Regions from separate parts of the Homo sapiens genome. Here region 1 is linked to region 2. The links are contacts of gene promoters, found by promoter capture Hi-C in blood cells and fetal thymus (Javierre and others, 2016). All regions are on one chromosome and are shown on one strand. The core of a region is centred on a gene start or on the middle of the fragment in contact, and the rest is flanking DNA. Distances in the headings are between cores, read along the strand shown. Region 1 overlaps CAND1.11 (a long non-coding RNA gene). Region 2 holds the start of WEE1 (WEE1 G2 checkpoint kinase).

Region 1 (5,350 bases), core at 2,025-4,524, 750 kb before region 2:
TGAAAACTGAGATCTGTGCTACACTTGAATGCAAAGTCATCAGAATTAGCTTACACAAGTTCCCCTTTCTCCCTCTGGCATATACTTCCACTCCTTTGCCATCCCAGCTTTGACTTCCCTTTCTTCTTCAGCCCTAATGAGAACTGGGAGTGCGAAAAAATGTAAGGAAGAAAGGAGGAAAAAGAAGAAAGACAGGAGAGATTAATCTCGATCCCAAAGATAGGTAGGACCTTTTGTTATTACACCAGCAAGTCATGGTTCTCTCCTTTCTTCCCTCTTTGTCTCCCAACCCTCTTCAACATGTATACTTGCCAAGGGCTAGGGAAACCCCAGCTTACAAGATCTACTCCCTCTAAAGGGACTGATCCTAAAATTAAAGCCAGTCCAGAGGGGCCACCTTTCTAGCCCAGGCAAGATATTCAAGCCTCAAACCAGGTTAAGGTCGTGTTGGAGTCCACACATGCCCTCTTCTTCCCTATCCAACAAAGGCCTGAGAAACTATGGTCTTTTCCATTAATGCCCTTGGACTGGAAGGGCAGGGGTCATATATAAATTCTGTGCTAAATACTATGAATTTTTTTTCTTTTTTCAGCATGAGACAGATACTGTGAATGCTATATCCCATTTAATGCCCATAGTAAATCCTGTGCTATAATGTATTAATTAAGATGGCTTCCATTAAAAGGAGCAGAAAGCTCAACTCACTATGGGTTACTAAGTGAAGGAGATGATTGGTTTATACAATAGAAGTATGACAGGATTGAGGATGGGTCCATTTAGGAGTTCAACAACTTTATCAGGGAGTTCTATTTTCCATCACTCCACTCTGCCATTCACAATGAGAGCTTCCATCTAGGGCTTGCCCCTGTTTTAGTCTCAGAGTGGCTTTCTATTGCTGCTGAGACTGCATATGTCTCCCACTTTTATCTAGCAGGAGAAAGGGAACTTGTTTTTCTGGAAATAAGCCAGTAAACTTATGCAAACTCATTGGCCTGAATTGCTAGTGAGACCACATATGTGTCCCATTCTTATCTAGCAGGAAAAAGGAAATTTGTTTTTCTGGAAATAAGCCAATAAACTTATGCAAGCTCACTGGCCTGAATTAGGCCAGCACCCATCACTGGGTCCTGTAATAGTGGCCTTAAAATGGAATTGCACTAGGCCTGAGTCTTCAGGAGTGGAGTGGTCTATTGGGGGAGATGTGGATACCCTAACAAAAGTCATGGTAGTTACCAAGAGAAGAACAAGGGCTGGGGAGGCAACTCCAAGGCTCTCTTAGCTACATATTATCCTATTTTTCAGAGGAGAAACTGAAGCTTGGAGATGCTGCTGTGTGTAATGATAGAGCCAGGACTCTCACCCTTCCCTACACCAGGTTATCTTGAAGAAACAAACCAAAGAAAAGCCGGAATGGTCATCCCTTCACTTTCAGCCTAAAACATGTAGATAGGAAAGAGAAGCAGGGATTTCATGAGACTGGGAAAATCTCAGCCACTGTGCACCCAGGAGCTACTGAATCTACCTACTCCACAAAGCTGAGGCAGCTTTGAACCTTCACATCACCTGGAACCATGCCTAGCTCAGCAACTATTTGTAAACTGAAGAGCAGAGACTACAAAGGTATTACCCATAATGATGAGTTCTAGAGCACTGTTTCCCCAGCCCATTCTGGGTTAAATCAGAGGTGTGGGCTAGCCTGGGAACCTTGCCACACTGCATAACATTGCTCCTCCTGGGGAATGTCTTCCGAGTTCTAAAGGACAGATTTGCAAATAGACTTCTGGAGTACAGCCCCATCCACTGCTGGGAACTGCCTTTGTTTGACTTGTTTATTCAGGAGAGCTTCTCTGGACTTTCACCCAGCCGCTGCCTGGCAGGAGGTGACCTGGCTTTAGCCAACAGTGGGTGGGGACAGCAGGAGAGCAGCTTCTGCTCAGTGCTAACTGGACACAAAGCTATACCATAGGAAGGGGGAAGGGCAGAGTATTCAAAGGCCATAAGACAGCTAGTCTTTGACAAGGGACCTCATTTAAGGAGCATGAGTCTCCCTGTCTCACTTCTACCTGGTGGAAGAGTGAGACAAAATTAACTTACATGACTTGAAAGGCTTTTGCAATTTTTGAGGGCCACTGAGTATAAATTTTCCAATAAGCAGCTGTTGGCTTTTGTTCCTGCTGAGGTCTCTCACAAGGCAGCATCAGGTTTGAGTGTCATGGCCTGCCATGGCCCCACTGGCCTTGAGGGTTTCTGTGGCCTATTTTAAGCAATTTTACTGTTCATGGTCCTGGCAAACATATCCATTTTTCTGACAATATTTATAGTCTGATGTAAGTGTGAACTAGATAATGACCTTTTCAAGTCATGGCACAATGTTCTGTTTAAAGTTTTCATTTTTTTGCTCAGAACATCTGCAAGATCCTTTGACCCTTCTGCATGGTCTCTTGGAGATTTTCCTAACTTTCTGACCACTTGTGGGGATAGAGGGGTGAATGATGGGCAGACCCTTCACGTGTCTTGGGTCATGTGAGCATCTGAGCCTACAGAGAACACTCCTTTTGCTTCTGAAGCTCTTGCAGCCCGTTCTGAGAAATGTAATGCTGACCAGTTCATCTCAGGCATTTCTTTCTCTCCGGACATTATAGGATCACCCTCAAAACACGTGTGAGGGCACATACATCATCAGCTTCCCATAGTGAGTAGTTCCTAGGACTTGGATAACATTTCAAGCTTGACATGGCTAAAACAATACCATATCTGCAGTTAACTTTAGGTGACTCACCAGAAGAGCTATTTTAAACAAATTTGTAGCGACTAAGATTACATTTGTTCTATGAAAAACAGACTGAAAGGACAAAAGGCTAATGCAATATTTTTGAAACGCTCTTTTTAAGCTCAATGAAGTCCTGCTGTATTTTCTTGACAGCATCCTAGTTACCAGGCATAACAGGAGGGGCAATAACTGGTATCTAAACCACTCAAGAAACAAGCATGTCTTGACACCATCCAGCAGGAGTATATGTTCATCAGAAGACAGGTTTGTAGAAATAGTGATGGCCATGTTCATCTAGTCACCAGGGATTCTAATGTATTCCCTTTCAAAATAATATTGGTCAGGCTAGAGCTCTGGTAGCCTTGTGAAGGGTATGGTTTACCAGTCACCTGGCCTGCCTTAAGGTCATCTTCAGTTCTCCTGGCAATTACTATACTCTCTTCTCTATCCCAGAGTGCAGACACATTTCTGTATTTAGTTCAAAGAAAATCAACAGCACAAATTCATAGGGATTCCTGACAAAGCCAGAAGGTCAGAGCTAGAAGCAGATTGGGGCTTCTAGCTCTGACCTTTCAGCTGAGACAAGATTTCTAAGGGGAGAAGAATGAACAGATGTGAGGAATGGGGTGCTCTCATGCTACTCAAATGAAGCACAAAGGTAAACACCAACCTCATTATTCTCCTGAGAAGTTGCTTATTTTCCTGGGGTGGGGAACCTGGGGGCAGGCAGAACCTTCAAGGCCTGAGAACTATCAAGAGACTCTTTAGGAGGCGAGGAGAAGCTGAAACCACTATCCCAACCCAGTTCTCCTGAGTTTTCCTTCCTGCTTCGGGTTTCCCACTTCATTTCCCATTGCCGTGGCATCATGTCAGCCCCTACCTGTGAGGAGATACTGACATTTCTTTAGTGTTATACAAACTCCTTCCCTGAACTCTTCTTCACATAGCTGAGATAGGCTGGAACTTTTCCAAAGCCTTTACAAAATACTGAGGGAGAACAACGGGGACATAAACAAGAAAATACATGAAGCATAAACATGGTCAAGCTTGTGCAATATGTTAACAATCATAATATTTAGGGAATGAGACACAGAAGGGAGAAATGTTGTACATAATAACCTTGTTTGATAATTTTTAGGAACTGTATATACTTTATAAGTAATACACATTTATTTTGACATATACAGTATTAATTTTGGTCCTACCATAGCATTCTAGCTCCCATGGTTCACTCCACTTACAGACTTTCCACCTGATTAACTCTGAGACTCTTCCTTCTGTTCCTTTCTATCCCCGTCCCTCCCCAACAGGTCTCACGAACCTTCTGGGAAGAACAACGGGTGATAAGTTTGACCATTCAGTCAATAAATGTGCCAGCTATAATGCCAGACACAGTGATAAGCCATCAGTTACCTTCAATGCTTATCGATACCACTCAAATGCCTTTTCTCTTTGATAGGAGAAAAGACCAAGGGTCATTTCCTTAACACTTCTTTCTGTGTCCATCTAAAAAGTCACTTAGAATTATATGAAAACACACTTAATAGACTCAGTAATCTCTGCCAAGAAAAAGATCTTGGTTGAAAGAATTCTCAGCTACAACAATGACTGCAATCAAAAAGAACTCATTTACATACAAATGGATCTTCCCAAAGAAGGCAAAAAGGAAAATCCCACTTTCTGATTTGGAGCAGCAACAAGCCACTAATATAGTCAAGGCAAGGCAGCCTCTGTCCTCTGGATGCCTCCAATAAGATGACTAAGGGCTTTATCAAGCCCATCTAAGCTTATGACTATATTAATGCTCCAGTGCTCTTTATTTGAGCTCCGAGGAGCCACTGTTTTCCTCATCCCTCTCATCATCTAACCTGAGCTCAAGTATTCTCACCTGGGTGTGATTCAAATGGAGCTAGCCTTTACTTTCCTGGACACTCGTCTTCCTTAATCTGCCTCAGTTTCCTCAAGGAAGACAAAGATAAAACATCTGGAGACACCACAAATGAACCTCATCACAAATGAACCTCAAGCTGAGAAGAGCACTTCTGAGAGGCACTTCCAATACCACCCACTGACACCCAGCAGAGAATAGTCTGTGCTTGGGGAATTTACCTACTGCTACAGTTTTCAGACATCATTGGCCCATAAAGAAAAGACACTTAAACCTATAAGCCTCCTGGGTTTTGCTCTGGAGCCTCACTGGTCAGAGCCTTGCGTGAACTCCCTTGGAAAGTTGTCTGGGATCAAGGAGTCTGCCCTTGAGTCTCAGCAAGGGATGAGGGAGGCAGGACTTAATGGACTGAAAGAGAGAAGCCACCCATGTGGTCCAACAGTTCATCCTAGGAAATGACAGTCCAGTTGGTACACAACTACATAAACTTATATTCCAAAATCCCCCAAATTCACCACCAAGGCACTTGGCTAAGATAACCAATATACAATCAACCTAGAACCGTTTCAAGAATTTATTCCTAAAGAAACAGCAGGTGGCAGCAGAGTTTTACATTTTTTTTTTTTTTTTTTGCCCTTTGGACTGGAATGAAAACAAAGTGTCACGGAATAATCTCCTCATCTCTGAGTCAG
Region 2 (5,551 bases), core at 751-3,250:
CTGCCTCTAACCCTAAAAAGAATATAAATGCTGCCTAAAACTAAGTTCATTCTAGTGGCTAAAAGTTAACAAATTCTTTCAACCCATCCAAAAATAGAAAGCAGTCCGAGAGCCCCATAAAATCTCCCCTCCCCCATCTAGATAGGGCTTCCATAGCCACCTCCGCTGGACTCCTCCCCTCACTTCCAGAGGGATTTTGCCTTGAGCAAGTCGGCCAATAAACAGTACAGCTCGAAAGCACACAGATTGCCTAGGCTGATGACAAACAGTACATTGAAAACAAAACAAACTCACTTTAAAAGGTGCATCTTCCCTGTTAACCTTACAAATGCGAGGCTTGTCTTAATCTCTGGAAGTATCAGCTTTAAAATCTGCAGTTTTAAAAGTGGTCATCTGCGCAGTACTCGAAGGCCTTTCAAAACACAGGTGCTGAACACCTCCTTCTTTAAGATACCTTATCTACGGTAGGATGTTCCTAATCACACGGAGGCCGGCCAAACTCTGGGCACCGCAAACCCACGATAAAAACAAATGCTGGGCCAAGACCTTGTCCAGAAACAGGCCTCAGTACTGCCTGGACTTAGGATGAGTCTGTAGGACTGTAAATGCTTGGAAGGCCAGCCTTTACTCCCAAGTCCAAGCGTAGTCTCCCTGCATGCCCCAGACCTTTCCCCCATCCACGCCACACGACACGACACGATCAGGGCGGGACAATTATTTTTCTTTAAACTCCTTCTGCCCGCGCCGCCCAAATTACAGGCCCGATCGCCGCGTTTAAAAGGCATCCTATGGCTCGGGAGTGTCAGGTGGCCGGGCCGGCACCCTCCAGCATCCTCGCGAACCGCGTTATCGGTGCCGCACTCGGGGCTGACACGCTCGGGGCGGCCCGGACTCAACGGGCGGCAAATCCTTGGCCACCCGGACGGGCCGATCGGCCCCTTTGTAAGATGAAGTTCCAGACGAGGCCCATTGTTCAGTTACATAATCTCAACGGACAACCTCGGGGCAGGGCCAAACACAAGGGCTGCCAACTTTGGGGGGCGGCGCAGGAAAGCGAGGGGGGAGCGGCCGGCCGCTTCTGTAACCGAACCCAGGCAGCGGCGCTGGCCCCTCCGGCGCCGCGGCCCCGGCCGCCGGGTGCCCGCGCCCGCCGCTCTCACCTTGGGCGTGTGCGGGGTGTCGAAGAGTCGCAGCTTGCGGAAGGTCTTGTGTGGCGGGGTGCCCGGGTGGTCCGGCCGCGGCGAGCGGCGGCCTTCGCCCGCCCGGCGCGCCCCGCAACCCCGCGGCGACGCATCTCCTGGGCCGCCGCAGCGCACCGGCGAGAAAGAGCTACCCAGGAAGTAGGGGGCCGCCGGCGACTTGACCGGCGACGAGGAGCCGAAGCCCTCCTCCTCCCACGAGTCGCCCTCCGCCCCACCGCCCGCCTCGTCCGCGCCCGGGCAGGCGCCGGGCAGCAACAGGTCCTCCTCCAGCTCGCCGGGGCTGCCGGGGGCCGGCCCGGGCGAGCGGCGGCGCTCGGGCCCGGGCTCCGTGGGGCTCCGCGCGGGCGGCAGCGGCGAGTCGGGCTCTTGAAAGGCCGAGTCCTCCCCGGTGCTGTGGCCGCTGCCCTCCTCCTCCTCCTCTTCTTCCTCCTCCTCACAGTCGCTGCAGGGCGAGAAGATCAGCTTCTGCCGCAAGGTGCAGGCCGCCCCGGCGCGGCGGGGTGGCGGCGGCTGCTGTCGGCTCAGGAAGCTCATCGCGGCCCTGGGGACGGGGCCGAGGACAGGAGAGCGGAGGCCTGCGGGGTCCAGGACACTGCGGGCCTGGGGGCGGGTCCGCCACGTGCGGCTGGGCGCGCCTAGTCGCAGCCGCGGCGTCTCTGCGCGGCGGCGGCCTGCGGCTCCGGGGCGCTCGGGCTGCGGACGGTGGCGGCAGCGGCGGCGCGGACTTTCCGGCAGAGGCGGGGCGGCCCGAGCACCGAGGCTGAGGTCTCCTCAGGTCCAGTCTCAGGTTCGGGCTCCGCGGCTTCCCGCGACCGTTAACCACGTGAGTGCCCAGTCCACCAATCCCAGTGCAGCTCCGGGTTTGAAAAAAAAAGGAGGGCGCGACGTAGCCCGCGGGGGAAGGACCAGCTACGCGATTTTGGCGGGAACCCGCTGGCTCCACCCCCGGCTCGGCGCCAGCCAAGTCTGGGCGGGCTGTGGTGTTCCGGGCCTATGAGCGAGCCTGGGGCGGCGGGGGGCCCGGCCCGGCGCCGCCCGAACACCGCCCGGACGGGGCTGGGCCTTCTGGGAGGGGCAAAAGAGAGCTGGATTCGCCTAAGCCGACCCGAAAGCCGGCCTGGACGCACCCCCCTCGCTGCTCCTCCGGTGCTGGGGGATCTGAAGAGGGGCAGGCGGCCGGGCAGCGCCTCCGGGTCTCTGCGAGCTGGGAAGAGCCAGGGACCGAATGGCCTTCGGCCGCTGCCCTCGGAGGCCGCTTCTTGCCCCTCGTCCCCTGGGGCGAGCCACTGGGGCGTAGTGGGCGTGGCAGTGGGCAGCCACGTTCAGGGTCGAGGTCTGAGCCGGAAATGGTGACTCGGGCCTCGGGACCTTTCTGAACTGCGGGAGCCGATGTGCTTAGGCTGGACACTGGCTGGGAGGAGGCCTCCGAGCCCCATTATTTCCCCGGGGTGGGTGACTGTTAGGGGCGGGTGTCAGCACAGCGAGAAGAGCTCTCCCAAGCAGGGGTCCACCTCTGCCGACCTTGTCCGCGGCCAAAAGAAACAGCAGCACAGTTGCCCACCACGAAACCAAGTGCCCGGCACACGATCTCCGTGTTTACATTTGTTCGCCAGCACGTGGGCATGCGTTGGCAAAACCGATTGGCCCGGCTCGCGGCAAACTCAAACGCAATTTTAAAAAATTTCCCTAGTGCTTCGTTAAACTGATTTAATCTGTCCCTTAATGCACTTACACGTTTCTTCCAGTTTTCTTTTTTCTTTCTTTGTTTATTTATTTTTTTTTTTTTTTCTGAGACGGGGTCTTGCTCTGTCACCCAGGCTGGAGTGCAGTGGCACGATCTCGGCTCACTACAACCTGCAACCTCCGCCTTTAGAGTTCAAGCGATTCTCATGCCTCAGCCACCCGAGTAGCTGGGATTACAGGCGGCTGCCACCACACCTGGCTAATTTTTGTATTTTTAGTAGAGACGAACTTCCCAATGTTGGCCAGGCTGGTCTCCAACTCCTGATCTCAAGTGATCCGCCCGCCTCGGCCTCTCAAAGTGCTGGAATTACAGACGTGAACCACCGCTCCCGGCCTCTTCCAGTTTTCTGTTGTAAACAACCCCGTGGTGTATATGCTTCCTTCTCCATGTTTTTTGTTTGGTTTGGTTTTTTTCGACACGGAGTCTCGCTCTGTCGCCCCAGGCTGGAGTGCAGTGGCGCGATCTCGGCTCACTGCAGCCCCCACCTCCCGGGTTCTCGGGTTCCAGCGATTCTCCTGTCTCCCGGGTAGCTGGTATTACAAGCACATACCAGGCCTGGCCAATTTTTGTATTTTTACAAAATGCAAAATACGGAGTTTCACCATGTTGGCAGGCTGGTCTCAAACTCCTGACCTCAGGTGATCTGCCCGCCTCGGCCTCCCAAAGTGCTAGGATTACAGGCGTGAGCCACCGCGCCTGGCCTTTTTAAAATACTCTTTTGGATACCTCCCTGGAGTTAGAATTCCTCAGTCAAAGGATATAAACTGGCAAACTCCCCCTCCAGAAACACAATACATTCTCACTAGCAGTGGATTAGAGCACACTCTGTGAATTCAGGACATCAGTGGATGTTCGTTGATGTGGTTTTGTTGTTTTGATTCATATTGTTGAACAGTTGTCATGGGTTTAATGATAATTTACATTTATCTCTATTGCCTATTTTTCTTATTGTTAGCACTTTATGCATATTAACACTTTGTCATATATGTTGTTCTAATGCTTTTCAAAGGCTAAATAAACTCAAGCTGAATTTTTCTTGAAACACACGGTAGTACTTAACACATCAAATCGGGAATTTCCTGAGATCACACAACTGAAGACACAGTGAAGGATCAACAGCTGTCTTTTCTCCTAACATTTGCTAACTGGTGTATAAATGTGTTTTTTATATGGTCATGCAAACTTAATTTTAAGCTCTTGGAGGACAAGAATTCTAGACTTGTATAAGGAGAGTTAGTCAATGATCCACAGTGGCCAAAGCCAAGGAGTGATTTTCAGAACCCTTGCTCCAACACTTCCCCTCCTGCCACTCCTTTTTTTTAAATTTTTATTTTTCGAGACAGGGTCTCACTCTGTCCACCCTGTCTCAAAGTGGAGTACAGTGGTGCAATCACGGCTCTGTAGCCTCGATCTCCCCAGGCTCAAGAGATCCTCCCACCTCACCCTCCCAAATAGCTGGGACTAATGATGTGTGCTACCACGCCCAGCTAATATTTGCATTTTTAGTAGAGACTCTGTTTCACCATGTTGCCCAGGCTGGTCTAGAACTCCTGGGCTCAAGCAATCTGCCCGTCTCCGTCTCCCAAAGTGCTGGAATTACAGGCATGAGCCACCATATTGCCCAGGCTGTGGGCCCCCTCCTGCCACTCCTGATGACAAATATAATTATTTGATATAATTGACATTTTCTCAATTTATTATGAAGCATAAATAAAAATAGAGAACCCTACTTTTATCGATCTGTAACATAAACTGCATGTGAAAATAGTGTGCTTTCTAAGTAAATGGGACTTTAAAGCCCTTTAGTTGCCTCTCCACAACTAGACTGATGCTCCTAAACTCCTCCTATGTAAGAATTCCGTATCTCTGTTCTCACGTCCCCTCCCTCACTCTTTGCTCTTTCACAACACCTGGCTTTATTTCCTTAGCAGGCTTATTTCTATCTCAAAGTACGTTGTTAGTTTATTACTATCTCCTTCTAGAAAAATAAGGTCCCCGAGGGTAGGGGACCCTTGTTTATTGCAGTATTCTAACGTGGATTAGGCGTTCACTCCCTTGTGAGTGATAAAAGAGCCCTTATTTAAATAATTGTTGGTTTATTCGCTTCCTAAATTGGCACATTTGCAGATAAGTTTGCCTATTTAAGATTTTGAATCGGGTGTGGTAGTTGTTCACACCTGCAATCCCAACACTTTGGGAGGTCAAGACAGGAGGATCACTTGAGGCCAGGAGTTCAAGACCAGCCTGGACAACATAGTGAGACCTCACCTCTACTAAAAATTTAAAAATTAGCTGGGCATGGTGTCACATGCCTGTGGTCCCAGCTACTCAGGAGGCTGAAGTGGGAGGATCCCTTGAGCCTGAGAGATGAAGGCTGCAGTGAGCTGTGATTGTGCCACTGCACTCCAGCCTAGGCAGCAGACCGAGAACTATCTCAGGAAAAAAAAAAAAAAATTGAACAGAGATCACCACTCTAGTACTCTATTTAATGCAAGATTGTAGAGGTAGCAGCCATCACACTTCCTATTTTTCCCCATGGTTTTTCCCCACTCCAGTAACAAAAACTTAAATGGTACAAAATTCTCCCACCTATCCCTTCAAATCC

What was found. The method cuts DNA at HindIII sites, captures the fragments that hold promoters and counts their contacts. A CHiCAGO score of 5 or more calls a contact.
Region 1: a fragment that was not itself captured here is called in contact with the fragment with the promoter of WEE1 in region 2 in 3 of 17 cell types (total B cells, activated CD4 T cells and fetal thymus); the score reaches 6.2 in total B cells.

What each region holds. Positions count from the first base shown.
Region 1 is chr11:10,323,112-10,328,461 of GRCh38, reverse strand. All of the region lies in intron 1 of CAND1.11 (a long non-coding RNA gene), which reads right to left. Among named protein-coding and RNA genes, the nearest start is that of CAND1.11, 17 kb to the right of the region's middle. The HindIII fragment of the contact is 1,089 bases long and covers 2,730-3,818 here.
Region 2 is chr11:9,570,119-9,575,669 of GRCh38, reverse strand. It overlaps WEE1 (WEE1 G2 checkpoint kinase), which reads right to left and starts at 2,000. Exons shown (of 11, transcript NM_003390.4): 1 at 1,161-2,000. The coding sequence starts at 1,736. RefSeq lists silencers at 1,378-1,477, 1,768-1,977, 1,998-2,347 and an enhancer at 1,922-2,774. The HindIII fragment of the contact is 14,841 bases long and covers 1-5,551 here.